Regions from separate parts of the Homo sapiens genome. Here regions 2 and 3 are each linked to region 1. Evidence: promoter capture Hi-C in human tissues and cell types (Jung and others, 2019). All regions are on one chromosome and are shown on one strand. Each heading gives the region's core, a stretch centred on a gene start or on the middle of the fragment in contact. The rest is flanking DNA. Distances are from core to core; before and after follow the strand shown.

Region 1 (4,285 bases), core at 591-3,090:
CTCTGTCTCTCTCCTGTGTCCCTCTCTTATGATGCCAGGCTTCTCGCCATTTGCTCACTCAGCTCACCGTCCTGCCTGTGCTCTGCCTTCATCCTGCTGTTCATTCATGCAGCAAATATTAACTGAGCAGCTGCCCTGAGCCACGTGCTGTTACTAGGCCCCTGATGATACGGCAGCAACCAAAACAACATCACTATCTCAAAATGTTTACATTCTAGTGAAGGAGACAGATACATACAAATAATTAAACAGACATACTTGAGAGAGATACATGCTATAAAGAAAATACAAGCTGAGTTAAGGAGATGAGTGGTATTATTTTAAACAAGGCTGTCAGGGACGTCATCTCTGGAGGTGATGCTTGAGCAGAGACTGGAATAAAGTGCTCAAGTACTGGTTGAATTAGACGCGACTGGAACAGAACGAGAAGCTAAATCATGTATATCCTTAGACACCAAAGTCTGGTTTTCTCTCTGTGTAACATGGGATCAGTAGAGTGAGTAGAGGAAGGACATGATCTGAGTTAGATTTTTTTTTTTTTTTTTGAGACGGAGTCTCGCTCTGTCGCCCAGGCTGGAGTGCAGTGGCACAATCTCGGCTCACCACAACCTCCGCCTCCTGGGTTCAAGCAATTCTCCTGCCTCAGCCTCCCAAGTAGCTGAGACTATAGGCGCGCGCCACCACGCCTGGCTAATTTTTTTATATTTTTAGTAGAGACGGGGTTTCACCATGTTGGCCAGGCTGGTCTCGAACTCCTGACCGGTGATGCGCCCGCCTCGGGCCCCCAAAGTACTGGGAGTACAGGCGTGAGCCACTGCGCCCAGCCCTGAGTTAGATTTTAAGAAGATCTCTCTGGCTGCTGTATTGAGAATAAAGTACTGGGGGCAAGAGTTGACACAGAGGCAACTTTTAGAAGGCTACTGCAATAATTCAGCCCGAGTAATCGTGGCTTGTGGGAGAAGTGTAGGAATGGAGATGAGAAGTCAGATTTAGGATATATTGTGTATACATAACGGAGAGGTGTAGTCAGAACAGATGTGGAAGCAAGACAGGGCAAGGCTGACTCACGGCTTTTAGTCTGAGCAGCTGAGTAAAAATGGTACCGTTTACATCAAATAGGGAACGGTGGTGAAGGAGCAGGTTAGAGGGGAAACAGGGAGCATGGCTTTGGACCCTTAACGTTTGAGATTCGACAGAAACCCTGGTTCACGGAATTGATCCAAGCTACATACTGATAATTGGGATTAGTGAGTTACAATGGCGTTGCAAGCCATGAAACTGGTTCAGACCGGCTGAATGAGCGGGACAGGAAGGGGCTGAAACACTTGAGTCCTTGTGAGAGCCCCAGCTCCAGGGGCAGCCTCGGGGGAAGCTCCCCGGGCGATGACTGCGGTAATGGAGCCGTAGGAGCTCCACGAGGTGCAGGTTCAGCGTCTTAGAAGGATGAGCAGCGGCTCGCCACAGCTCGGAGGCGGGTGGGCAGCGCTCCAGGCCGAGGGCCCCGCGTCGGCAAAGACACAGGACCCACGACAAGGCGGCCACGGCCTGAGTCAAAAGGAAGGCCGCGCGCCTCCTCTCCAGCCCGCAGCAAGCGGGTGCCACGAGGCACTCAGCCGGTCCCCGAAGTTCCTCTCACGCGGCCCCAAGACCACCACCGTAGTCCAGGCCAACAAGCGCTGCCGGGACTCCCGAGGCCACGAATGAGCCGGGAGCCACCAGTAGCCGGCCAAGTCTCGCGAGAGCGCGGCCTCGCCCTCCCAGCATGCCCCGCGCCGCCGCCGCTGCCGCCGCCGCCGCCGCCGCCGCGCCGCGGCTTGAGGGCGGGAGGCTGGGGGAGGGTAGCGGAGCCGGCGCCGCCGCCATGTTGGGTCTGAAGCGGCTGCTGTAGGCGCCGACGGAGCGAGCGGGCGTGCGGAGCGGGCGACAGTGGCGTGGGATCTGCCTCTCTGCGAGCAGCTGGGAGCGGCGGCGGCGGCGCCATGAGCGGGGGCACCCCTTACATCGGCAGCAAGATCAGCCTCATCTCCAAGGCGGAGATCCGCTACGAGGGCATCCTCTACACCATCGACACCGAAAACTCCACCGTAGCCCTTGCCAAAGGTACGCGGGACCGGGCCTCAGGGTGGGGGCCGAGCCGGGCGCCGCTCGGGGCTGCTCCCCGCTCCGGCCCGCGGCCTCCTCGTTCCCTCCCCTCCCTCCGTCGAGCTCCGGGAGGCCTCTCGCCTCCCTTCTCCGGGCCCCGGCGTCGCGGGCCGGACCGCGGCCTCCCCGCGGCTCCCTGGTTTCCGCCCCCCGGAATGTCCGCGCCTGAAGCCCGGGGAACTACGGGACTGAGTGCGCGGCGGGCGGCCCTGAAGTCCGAGAACGGGCCGGAGAACACGGAGAAACGCGTCTTCCAACTCCGAAATTCGGGGCTTCTGCCGTCTTAGCACAAAACAAAGCCGGAGTATTCAAAGAATTTTTCCGCCCAGCTTGAGTTCATCGCGGATGCGTTGACTACACAGCACCCATTTTCTCACTTTGTTCATTTCAATTCGTGGCGATCTTCCTCTGGTGAACTCTTGAGTAATGTGCTAAAACTTTGGGTTTGCTCTGCGACGCAGACATTCTCGAAATGCCATCGATGCCGTGGAGCAGATCCCATCTCCCTCGGCTCATCCTCTGTTGGTATTTACCTGTTAAACCGGAATCCTCAAAGCCTGTTGTGCAACCACCTCATTAGGGCGCGTGGTAAAAATGCTTGCTGCTGCCCCGACGCCCCTGTTTCTGGAAACGGGTTCAAGCTTGATCCAGGATCCTTCTTGACCAGGCAAGCTTGACCTTTGATCCAGGCTCAGTGGGCGTTGACTGATCCCTCTGGAGGCTCTCTGGGAAAGGGAATTCGGCCGAGAAGGAAGGTGCCCCTACCCACAGTGTTAATATTTGGCATCCCTAGAGTCTGTGTGGGTTTTGTTTCCGTTCACACGTGCAGGGCCTTTGCTCCGCCAGGAAACCAGAAAGAAAATAAACTTTAGCTCCTGAATCTTAAAGGAAATCTCACAACAGTGTAAAATACTTTGAGGGAAGCTAGATAACCTAGGTGATTTTCCCAGCACTTCTGGTAGAGGTGGGAACTGCATAGCATGGTTAGGGACCCTGTGGATAGGTTAGGTCCAAGGATAAAGAAGAAGATTTTCGAAATCTGTAAAATTTTAAAAATCGTTAACAGATAGGGGAGTGGTTTCACGGGATCAAGTATTTAATAATATTTCTTGGATGCTCTGGTAAATCCTTTATTTATTTATTTATTTATTTATTTTTCTAAGATGGAGTTTAGCTCTTTTTGCTCAGGCTGGAGTGCAAAGGCAATGATTTCGGCTCACTGCAACGTCCGCCTCCCGGGTTCAAGTGATTCTCCTGCCTCAGCCTCCCAAGTAGCTGGGATTATAGGCGCCTGCCACCACCCCTAGCTAATTTGGTATTTTTAGTAGAGACGGGGTTTCACCATGTTGGCCAGGCTGGTCTCGAACTCCTGACCTCAGGTGATCCACCCGCCTCGGCCACCCAAAGTGCTGGGATTACAGGCATGAGCCACCGCGCCCAGCCTCTGGTAAATCTTTTTAATAGCCCTGGTGTTGGGACAAATCTTATACCTGGGTAGGGAACCTTTTGATGTTACAGAACTGTACACCATAAAGGAGTAGTATGAGATGGTGATAGTTGCACAACTCTGCAAATTTGCTGAAGATCATTGAATTATACACTTTTTAAAATCACCAAGTCTAATTTTAAAAGTAGTATGAAAAACCAGGGAGTACCCCCACATTTCCCTCTTCACCTTGTGAAACATTATGCAGTGACACATTACCTCATTAAAACACCTGTAGACTTGGCGGTTAGAAATCGGCTATAGGATGTATGATGGATGGTATTTGGTGTTTATTAAAGACTTTCCCAGTGATGCTTCTTAAGTAACTTAGTTTTTGCTTGGCCTTATTTTGAATTTATTTTTATATTTTTTATACAATAGTTACTTAGCTGTATAGTGTTTTTCTGGCTTTTTGAAATTATGAAAAAGCCTCTCTTTATGAAATTATGAAAAGTGCTGGGTGAGAGCCAGATATGGGTTGAAAATAATTTCTCATTAAAGTGGTTTAATAAATTTGTTTTAAAGTATTGCTTTACCTAATCTGAATTTAAAAGTGTCTTGCCAGCTTAGTGACTCAATAAGTTGGCTGTGTTACCTTTATTCCTCACAAAGAAAAAAAATACATTTGAAAATTTTAAAGTATTTTTGTTCTTTTTT
Region 2 (4,285 bases), core at 1,221-3,720, 950 kb before region 1:
TTAGAGCTAAAATATGACACTTTGCAGACATTTTTGATTCTGACCAGGCTCCCCAGGGTATTGGTGGAGAGAGAGTGAGCCCACCTGGGGCAGAAAGGTGGGGTGGGCTGGGGAGGGGAGACCCTTAGTACATCAGGTGGGGAAGGCAGTGCAGACCCCAGCTCAGTCCTCACCTGCCCAGTCCCCACCTCCTATCACCTTCTGGTTGAGGTTGATCTCCTTGTTTTTTCCTGCCTCGTCCAGCCTCCTGCCTGCTGTAATCCTCAAAGGCTCCCCGGGCCAGGCCAAGATCAAGGCTCCCCAAGACCACCACTGAGTGCCCCGGGCTTGGGTTCTGTAGCTGAATCCAGCATCCTTGGTTAGCTAAGTGGCCCTTCACCCTGGCTCAGTGTTCAAGGTTTGGAGGCCAAGGTAGTGGACCTGGCACAGCAGGAAGGAACTGAAGGGTAGGGGAGCTGTCAGGGCAGACCTGGGCTGCATGGGAAACTTACAGAGTCTGTCCTGGAAAAGGAGGGTGATAGTGGAGTTGGCCTTCTCCACTCCCACCACCACCACCTCTACCATCACCACCACCACCACCACCACCACCACCACCACCACCACCACCACCAGGGCCCCTTTCTGGGGAGAAAGGAGCCAGGCAGCCTCCCTGTGGCCTGGGGAGGATGGGATGTGGGGAGGGGATAGAGTAGGAAGACAGGTCAAGGATGCTGGGCTTAGCTGAGGAGCCCAGGCAGAGCTGTGTCTTTCTGCACCTGCCTGGCACTGTAGCTGGTTCTAGGCATGGTCTCAATCCTATGACCCACTCATGGTGTGAGCTTCCCCTTCCCTGGAGGACAGTTCCTGGAGAGGGTGTGGGCCAAGAAAAAGCTCTAACCAGCACCCTGGCCAAATCCCTGGAACCAGCCCTTCCTTCCAGCAGACCGTCCATCAGGCAGGGGCATCCTAGGCCAAGAAGCTCCCAGGGCCAGGTCAGGACCAGGCTCTGGGAGACAGCATTCTAAGGGGAGGGGGTGAGATGGCGGAGTGACCTGGCCAGGGGCTGTGTTCAGGGGCAACTCTGGATGTGAAGAGCTGCTAATGTGGGGGTGGGAGAGGACGAGGTGAAGACCCTGGGTCTGCCCTACTGAGCCCCCAAACTTTCTCCATCTCCAGGGGTCTGAGGGTGGGAAGGCAGTGAAGACACAAGTGGCTCTCACTGGCAGGGGACCGGGAAGACTGGCTGGCGGTAAGGTGAGAACAGTCGAGGCCCCAGTCACTCACCCCCCAAACCACTTCTCCTGTCCCTCCCTGGAGGGGCTCAGAGGCACTCTGTGTAGACAAAGAAACAAGTCAGTATCCATGACTTGGGACAGAGAGTGGAAAAATACCACTGCCATTCCCATGACCTCTGAGCTCTCTGCCTGCCCAGAAACCCCTATGTGGGGGCAGGACATGGACCCATTCTCAGGTGGGGACTTTGGAGTCCAGGGCCTCCAGACCAGGCGAGTGTCCAGTGCCCACCAGGATCCCAGCTCAGGGAGCAGCTGGCCTTCTGCAGGCTGGGTCTGCCCACTGCTGCCCCCAATTGCTGGCTAACCCGCCCCCTCTCCTGGGTCCTGCTGCCAAACCCTGCAGTCATTGCCTGCTCTGAACCTCCGTCCCTTCTGCGCAGGCTGCGCTTGCTCACTCTGCTCATAGGCCCTCCTGCTTTCCAAGAATAAAGTCACTGCACTGCGTGGCACCTGGACCCTGCACACAGTAGGTACTCAGACTGACCCACAGTACAGAACTTGGGGAGCTCAGCCTGCCGCAGCCTGACCAGCCCCTACACTGGTCAAGTTCCTGCGCTAATCGCAGGACTGCAGTCATGGCCATTTCACAGATGAGGAAACTGAGGGTAACTGCCTTGCAAAAGCCCCGCAGCAAAATCGAGTCAGGAGGAAGAGTCCAGCGGTGGAGGGGACCCAAAACTCCCCCAGGTGCAGGCGGCCGGGAGGTGGGAACACGGAGCTTTGGCACCCTGGGCCAGCAGCCCCTGACCTCCCCGCGGTCATAGCGCTCTCTGAGGCCAGACTGCAGGTTCCCCAGGCAGACCCGTCCGAGCGCCCGGAGAGGGGACGCCCCTCGTTCGGAGCGGCTGCGCCCCTCATTCGGCCTCCGCCCGGCGCCCGCCCGCCTGGGTCCCGCTCACCGATGATGATGGTGCAGGCGCTCAGCAGCCCGATCTCCTTCTTGAGCGCCACCCGCTCCGAGGCGCCGGGGACGGTCCCTGGGACTGGGGAGGGCGAGGGCGCAGGCCTGGGGTTCCCGCGCCCGCTCGGCTGCTGCGTGTGGCCGGCCATGTCGCTGTCCCGCCGCGTCCCCGCTCCCTGCGCTGCCCCGTCTGTCCGGCCGGCCGCCCGTCGGTCCGTCGGTCCGTGAGCTCACGGCCCTCGCAGCCGGGACAGCGCCCACAGGCGGGCGCATGCGCTGGCTCCGGGCCCGGGACTGGGGGCCCCGGGCGGCGGGGGCCCGGGAGGGGCGGAAGGAGGGCCGGCCCACAGCCCCCTCCCCCACCTCCCTTAAAGGGAACGCCCCCTCCCCCAGTCCCGGCCTGGGAAGGAAGGAGAGGACTTGGGGCAGATCTAGGAAGGACTTCCCAGTTGGGCGAAGGAAGGGACCCTCCAGTTGCCTGAGTTACATCCATTCTTGGGGCCGGGTTGGGGAGCAGAGCTCCGAGACAAGACAATCCCTGCTCTCAGGGAGGCCGAGGGGGACGGCAAGAATAACAGCTGGCCGCGTGTGGGGATGCAGTGTGTGCTCCCTTTAGTACTCTATGCCTGCACGATGTGTGTGTGTGTGTGTGTGTGTGTGTGTGTGTGTGTGTGTGTGTAGGAGACAGCTCCCAGGGTGAGTCCATTCTACAGGTGGAAGTTGAAGCCCAGAGATCAGTAGCGATCGCCGAGCAAGTGCAGGGCTGAGACCAAACCCTTTCTCGTGCCTCCTGAGGCTCCCAGGCGGACAACCTCAGGAGGGGTGGGGGTTGAGGTCTGGAACTCCTCTGAGGGGTCTGGGTGTCCTATGCACCCTGGATCAAAGGCCTGAGGGTCGAGGTGAAGATCCCGGGGGCTCTCATCCTCATCACGGGGACCCAAGACCTGTGACGAGTCCTGGACACGGCTCGCCCACCCTACCAGGCTCTGGGCCACCTCTGGCCTGAGATCTTCACTACAGGCTCCTCGTCCCAGGTCAGAGTGAGGGCTCAGCGGACTAGAACTCGGGTCTCTGGTGCAGGTCCCGCGCGATCCAGCCCGGCTCAAGAAGGCCAGGCGACCTGGAATGCCCGGGAGACACGGAGAAGGAGGCTGTGGTCGCGGGAGAGGGTCGGGAGTGCGGGGATCCGAGGGAGGCTGCCTCCTCCCGGAAGCCGTCCGGACTGTGCAGCCGAGGCCGGCGGAAAAGATCCAGGGGGGCCGCGTCGGGGCCACCGGGGCGGCGGGCGGGGCGAGCCTGGCACTGTGCGGCCGGCGGCGGAACAGCCTTTGTTTCTTCCTGGCGGCCGCCGCGACGCGCCGTCCCCTGCATGTGGATGAGGCCTCGCCGGGCGCCCCGTCCTTCCCCCCAGTGGCGGCCTCCGGGTTTGCTGGGGCCCTGCCAGGGGTCCGACGGCTGCAGGGTGGACCGGGGTGGGACGGGGCGGGGGCGGGTCCCTGGCAGGGGCGGGTCCCTGGCAGCGGCAGGGCCTGGAGGTGGGAGCGGGGCGGGGCCGGCGTTTGCAGGCACACAGGAGCTTCGAAGTTGGGGGCGGGGACTTGGGGTAGGAGTAGGAGCGGGAGGATCCAGGGTGGACGTGCTGGTGGGACGCCGAGGGGGAGGCCACCCGGCGAAGCTGCATCCCTCTCGCTTCTGTCGTCGGAGACCGGCATTCTTGGCGCCCTCCACCTCCAGCCCCAGAGACCATTCAGAGGCCGACTCTCTTAAAGGAGCCTCGCGCAGGGTAGGGGCAGCCCTGGCTCCGGAGACCCCTGATTGTCGCGGGTGTTAGGGGCCAGAGGCCTCGACCTTCTGGTTTGACTCTCCCCAGCCCCCCAGTTGCCCTCGCAATTCTAGGGTCTGCTGGGAGAGGGTCTAGCCAGGGCTGGTGCAATCAGGGGCAGCTTGCCAAGGGGCAGGGGCTGGCGCAAGCCTCGCAGCTCTGAAGCCTGTGGTTTTCGAGGGTGTCTCTCTGGGACCTGGAATGTGGAGTATGCGTTTGTGGGGGAAAGGTCGGCCTAGGGCTTTGCACAGGATGGAGTTTGTATGTTGTCAGCCAGGCCCCATAGCT
Region 3 (4,285 bases), core at 723-3,222, 510 kb after region 1:
CTCATGTCACCTAATCAAGGTTAGAGGTTTTTGCCATCATAATAATTCAAATTGTTACTATATTCATGACAAAGTAAGACAATTTATTCTTTCTTAATTCTACTTAAGAAAAATATACTAATAGTTTTAAGCTAAGAAAAGCTGTCAGTTAGATGGAAAATCACTTTTCTAAAGCTGAGCTTTGTAGATGAAATATGAACATATTAGAGGAAGTAAGGGACATATAAATGTTTCTAGGAATAATATTTTCTAATGTTCAAGAAAAATATGATTCACACAGTTTCTTCATAACCTCAGAAAGCCTATATCTTTGTCAGCTATAAAGAGCATTTACTTTGTTTTTACTGCAGTTGTTTAATATAGTAGTATCAATTCTGTATTTTAAGCTTGATAATCCAGCAGCAAATTGAGATTAATGGAAGGTTGGAAAAAAAGGCTATGAAACAAAATGCAACCTTTCCCACATGAATATAGGCACAAAATGATGATTTGTAATCCTGAATGCCTTCCACATCTTATTTCTGATACTTTCCTTTTTTCCATACTATTTTATCCATTTCGTACAGCTTACCCATTTCCTTTATCACACTCTGTTCCTGCTTCTGTGAACTTTGGATTCTCTGCTCTATTTGAGCATTGTTCAGAAGTCACTGAAATATTTGAGTTGTCAGAACTATGTGTTTTCTGGGTGCTTCATTTCTTATCCAATTCTCCTAATTCCACTGTAGAAGCTTTTTTCAAGAAGTAAAAAAAAAAAAAAAAAAAAAAAAAAAAAAAAAAAAAAAAAAAAAAAAAGGCAGTGCTTTGCTTTCTTGATATATTTCAGATTGGGAATCAAGATGGGAAAACAAGGAATTATCAACAAAGAAGGATATTTATGATGAAGATTCACCCCAACCAGTAACAATGGAAAAAGTTGTAAAACAAAGTTATGAATTTTCAAATTCTAATAAGAATTTGGAATATACAGAATGCGACACATTTAGAAGCACCTTTCATTCAAAGTCTACTCTTTCTGAACCACAAAACAATTCTGCTGAAGGGAATTCACACAAATATGATATATTAAAGAAGAATTTATCAAAAAAGTCAGTTATAAAAAGTGAGAGAATAAATGGTGGAAAGAAACTTTTAAATTCTAATAAAAGTGGGGCAGCCTTCAACCAGAGCAAATCTCTTACCCTTCCCCAGACTTGTAATAGAGAGAAAATCTATACATGCAGTGAATGTGGGAAAGCCTTTGGCAAACAGTCAATCCTCAGTCGCCACTGGAGAATTCATACAGGAGAGAAGCCCTATGAATGTCGTGAATGTGGGAAGACTTTTAGCCATGGTTCATCCCTTACACGACATCAGATAAGCCATAGTGGAGAGAAACCTTACAAATGCATTGAATGTGGGAAGGCCTTTAGCCATGGCTCATCACTTACTAACCATCAGAGCACTCACACGGGAGAGAAACCGTATGAATGTATGAACTGTGGAAAGTCTTTTAGTCGTGTGTCCCTTCTCATTCAGCATCTAAGAATTCATACGCAAGAAAAACGCTATGAGTGTCGTATATGTGGAAAGGCCTTCATTCATAGTTCGTCTCTCATTCACCATCAGAAAAGCCATACTGGAGAGAAGCCTTATGAATGTAGAGAATGTGGGAAAGCTTTCTGCTGTAGCTCACACCTTACTCAACATCAAAGAATTCACAGTATGAAGAAAAAATATGAATGCAACAAATGTCTCAAGGTCTTTAGTAGCTTCTCATTTCTTGTTCAACATCAGAGTATTCATACTGAAGAAAAACCGTTTGAAGTTTAGAAATGCAGGAAATCCTTCAACCAGCTTGAATCACTGAATATGCATTTGAGAAATCACATTAGATTGAAACCCTACGAATGCAGTATATGTGGGAAAGCCTTTAGTCATAGGTCGTCCCTGCTTCAACATCACAGTATTCATACTGGAGAGAAACCTTACGAATGTATTAAATGTGGGAAGACCTTCAGCTGTAGTTCAAACCTTACTGTACATCAGAGAATTCATACTGGAGAAAAGCCATATAAATGTAGTGAGTGTGGGAAAGCTTTTAGCAAAGGCTCGAATCTTACTGCCCATCAAAGAGTACATAATGGAGAGAAACCCAATAGTGTGGTAAGTGTGGAAAAGCCTTTAGATCATATGAATCCCTATACATGTGAGAAATCTTACAGAAGAGAAGCAGTGTTTATCACGGTAAACTTCATTCATAGATCCTCCCTTATTTAACATCAGAAAAATGTATACTGGGGAAAAGTTGTATGAAGGTGGTGAACATGGGAGACTTTTAGCAATGATGCAGATTTTTTTATTAGAGTTTATACTGTAGAGAAATCATATGAAGTCAATAAATGTGGGAAAGCCTTTGTCAGTATTAATCCCTTAATTGACCTAAGTATACTCACACTAGGAAAAATCTGTGTACATGTAGCAAATGTGGGAAAGACTATAGGCAATAGGAATCTCCTGCAAACTCCTACAGGAGAAAAGTTGTATGAATGTGGAAACTTTAGAAATTGAAGGAATTTTTCAGTTCCAAGTGCATCCCTTATTCTATAGGAAATAAACTGGAGACAAATCTCATTTAAGAGATGCAGCAAAGTGTTCACTAAGAGTGTTTATCTTGCCAGACATAAGAAGATGAATGGTAGAGCAACCTGAAGGATTTAGAAATTACATATAAATCTTTGCAGTTATGCTATTTGTAAACAGGATTATATAGGAGAGCAAATAAACATAAGTATGCATTTCTTAGAGCAGTAGCTTGCAGTTTCAGTTGAGTTCTACTTAGAAATTCTTTTTAGCTAGTGGGCATGTGAAGATATTTAGTCACCCAGAGGAGCCAGTAAATGTTATAATGTTAAAAATTAAAGCTGCAAAAGAAATAAAATGGTGTTAATAAAAATTTGGCATCTAATAAAATCATTTTGTATATCATGAACTCTTTCTCTGTGACTGTTTGCGACAAAAAAAAATTTCACTAAGATTAGCCTTAGTATAGCCTTTAGCGGGAGACTAGCAAACTTCGAGAAGAATGGCCTGCTCTTTATACTAAGAATAGCAGTATTTTGGTGAGGATTATTGAGTCCATATCCAGTAGGCTTAATTAAATACATTTCAAGAACATTTACTGAGCATTACTCATGTGTATTACACAGGGATGGGATAAAGGAATCTAGTAGTTCTGAGCTCTAGTGCTGTGTCGAAATCACTGGAAGGACGTGTTAAAGCACAGATTGCTAAGCCTCAGTCCTAGAGTTTCTGTATGAGTTGATTTGAATTTGCATTTTTCACACGTTCTTAGGGGACACTAACACTGTTTGTCCAGAATATAATAATAATGTTATGGTGTCACTGACAACATATTGTTTCCTCAATCTTACCTATTAACCATTTCTTGAGCATCTTCTGTGGACTTAAGAAACACTCCATACTCCTTAAGAGCTTCGAGATGTGTGTGTGTGAAGAGCATTAAGCTTTGGAGTCTTGTTACCTGGGTTTAAATCCAAGTTACATGTATACTGGCTTTGTGACCTTGGACAAACTGTTTCACTGGGTCATGCTGCAGTTTCTCCATCTGTAAAATGGTAATAAACCTATTTCACAGCATTATTATGAAAGTTAAATGAGTTAATTGATGCACAATGTTTACAACAATGCCTGGCCTCTCAATAGCATTCAGTAAGTATTAGCTATAGCTATTGATTTCATCATCATCGTCTTCTCATGGTTGCTTCATTATTCTGGTCTCAGATGTCACATCTAATCACTTGCCACTCTTATCTGTTTACTGTTTCACATTTTTGGGGGAGAGCATTTACAAAACACCCCCGTTTCCTTCCAACAAATCCTTTAGTATCTGAGCCATTTTGAGGGAATGTTTCTTGCCCAAAATAACCTAAGGAGAAACAAAGAGACCAGATAGGAGATGAGATGAGAATTCAGCAGGTCTCTGAGAAGGAAGAAGGATGCCCTACAGAGTTGGAAAATGGGCCGAGTGAAGGAGGCATCAGGCTTCCACATGGAGGAAAGGGGAGGGTTTACCCACTGAGACCAGAAGACTACAGGTCTTTGGCATCATCTCTGAGTACAGAGTCCCATGGGCTGGGTGCCACTGCCCTCACTCTTCCTGAATGGAGGTTACAGCCTGTCATTGAAGGTCACCGATGCCTGGAAAGTCAGAGTTTTCTTGTTAGCCTTGGGCCAGTCAAATGTGATTAGAACTCAGTTGCTGGTAAACATCTAGAAAGAACCA

The links. The method cuts DNA at HindIII sites, captures the fragments that hold promoters and counts their contacts. A contact is called where the count stands out against the background at its distance.
Region 2: the fragment with the promoter of SLC7A10 here is called in contact with the fragment with the promoter of LSM14A in region 1 in 1 of the 25 tissues and cell types used here (mesenchymal stem cells).
Region 3: a contact is called between a fragment that was not itself captured here and the fragment with the promoter of LSM14A in region 1, in 1 of the 25 tissues and cell types used here (hippocampus).

The regions. Positions count from the first base shown.
Region 1 is chr19:34,170,664-34,174,948 of GRCh38, forward strand. LSM14A (LSM14A mRNA processing body assembly factor) reads left to right here and starts at 1,841. Exons shown (of 10, transcript NM_015578.4): 1 at 1,841-2,100. The coding sequence starts at 1,980. The HindIII fragment of the contact is 14,704 bases long and covers 1-4,285 here.
Region 2 is chr19:33,223,380-33,227,664 of GRCh38, forward strand. SLC7A10 (solute carrier family 7 member 10) reads right to left here and starts at 2,471. Exons shown (of 11, transcript NM_019849.3): 1 at 2,174-2,471. The coding sequence starts at 2,324. The HindIII fragment of the contact is 48,714 bases long and covers 1-4,285 here.
Region 3 is chr19:34,683,426-34,687,710 of GRCh38, forward strand. It overlaps ZNF302 (zinc finger protein 302), which reads left to right. Exons shown (of 5, transcript NM_001289187.2): 5 at 827-2,971. The coding sequence ends at 1,812. Among named protein-coding and RNA genes, the nearest start is that of ZNF302, 7.9 kb to the left of the region's middle. The HindIII fragment of the contact is 3,944 bases long and covers 1-3,944 here.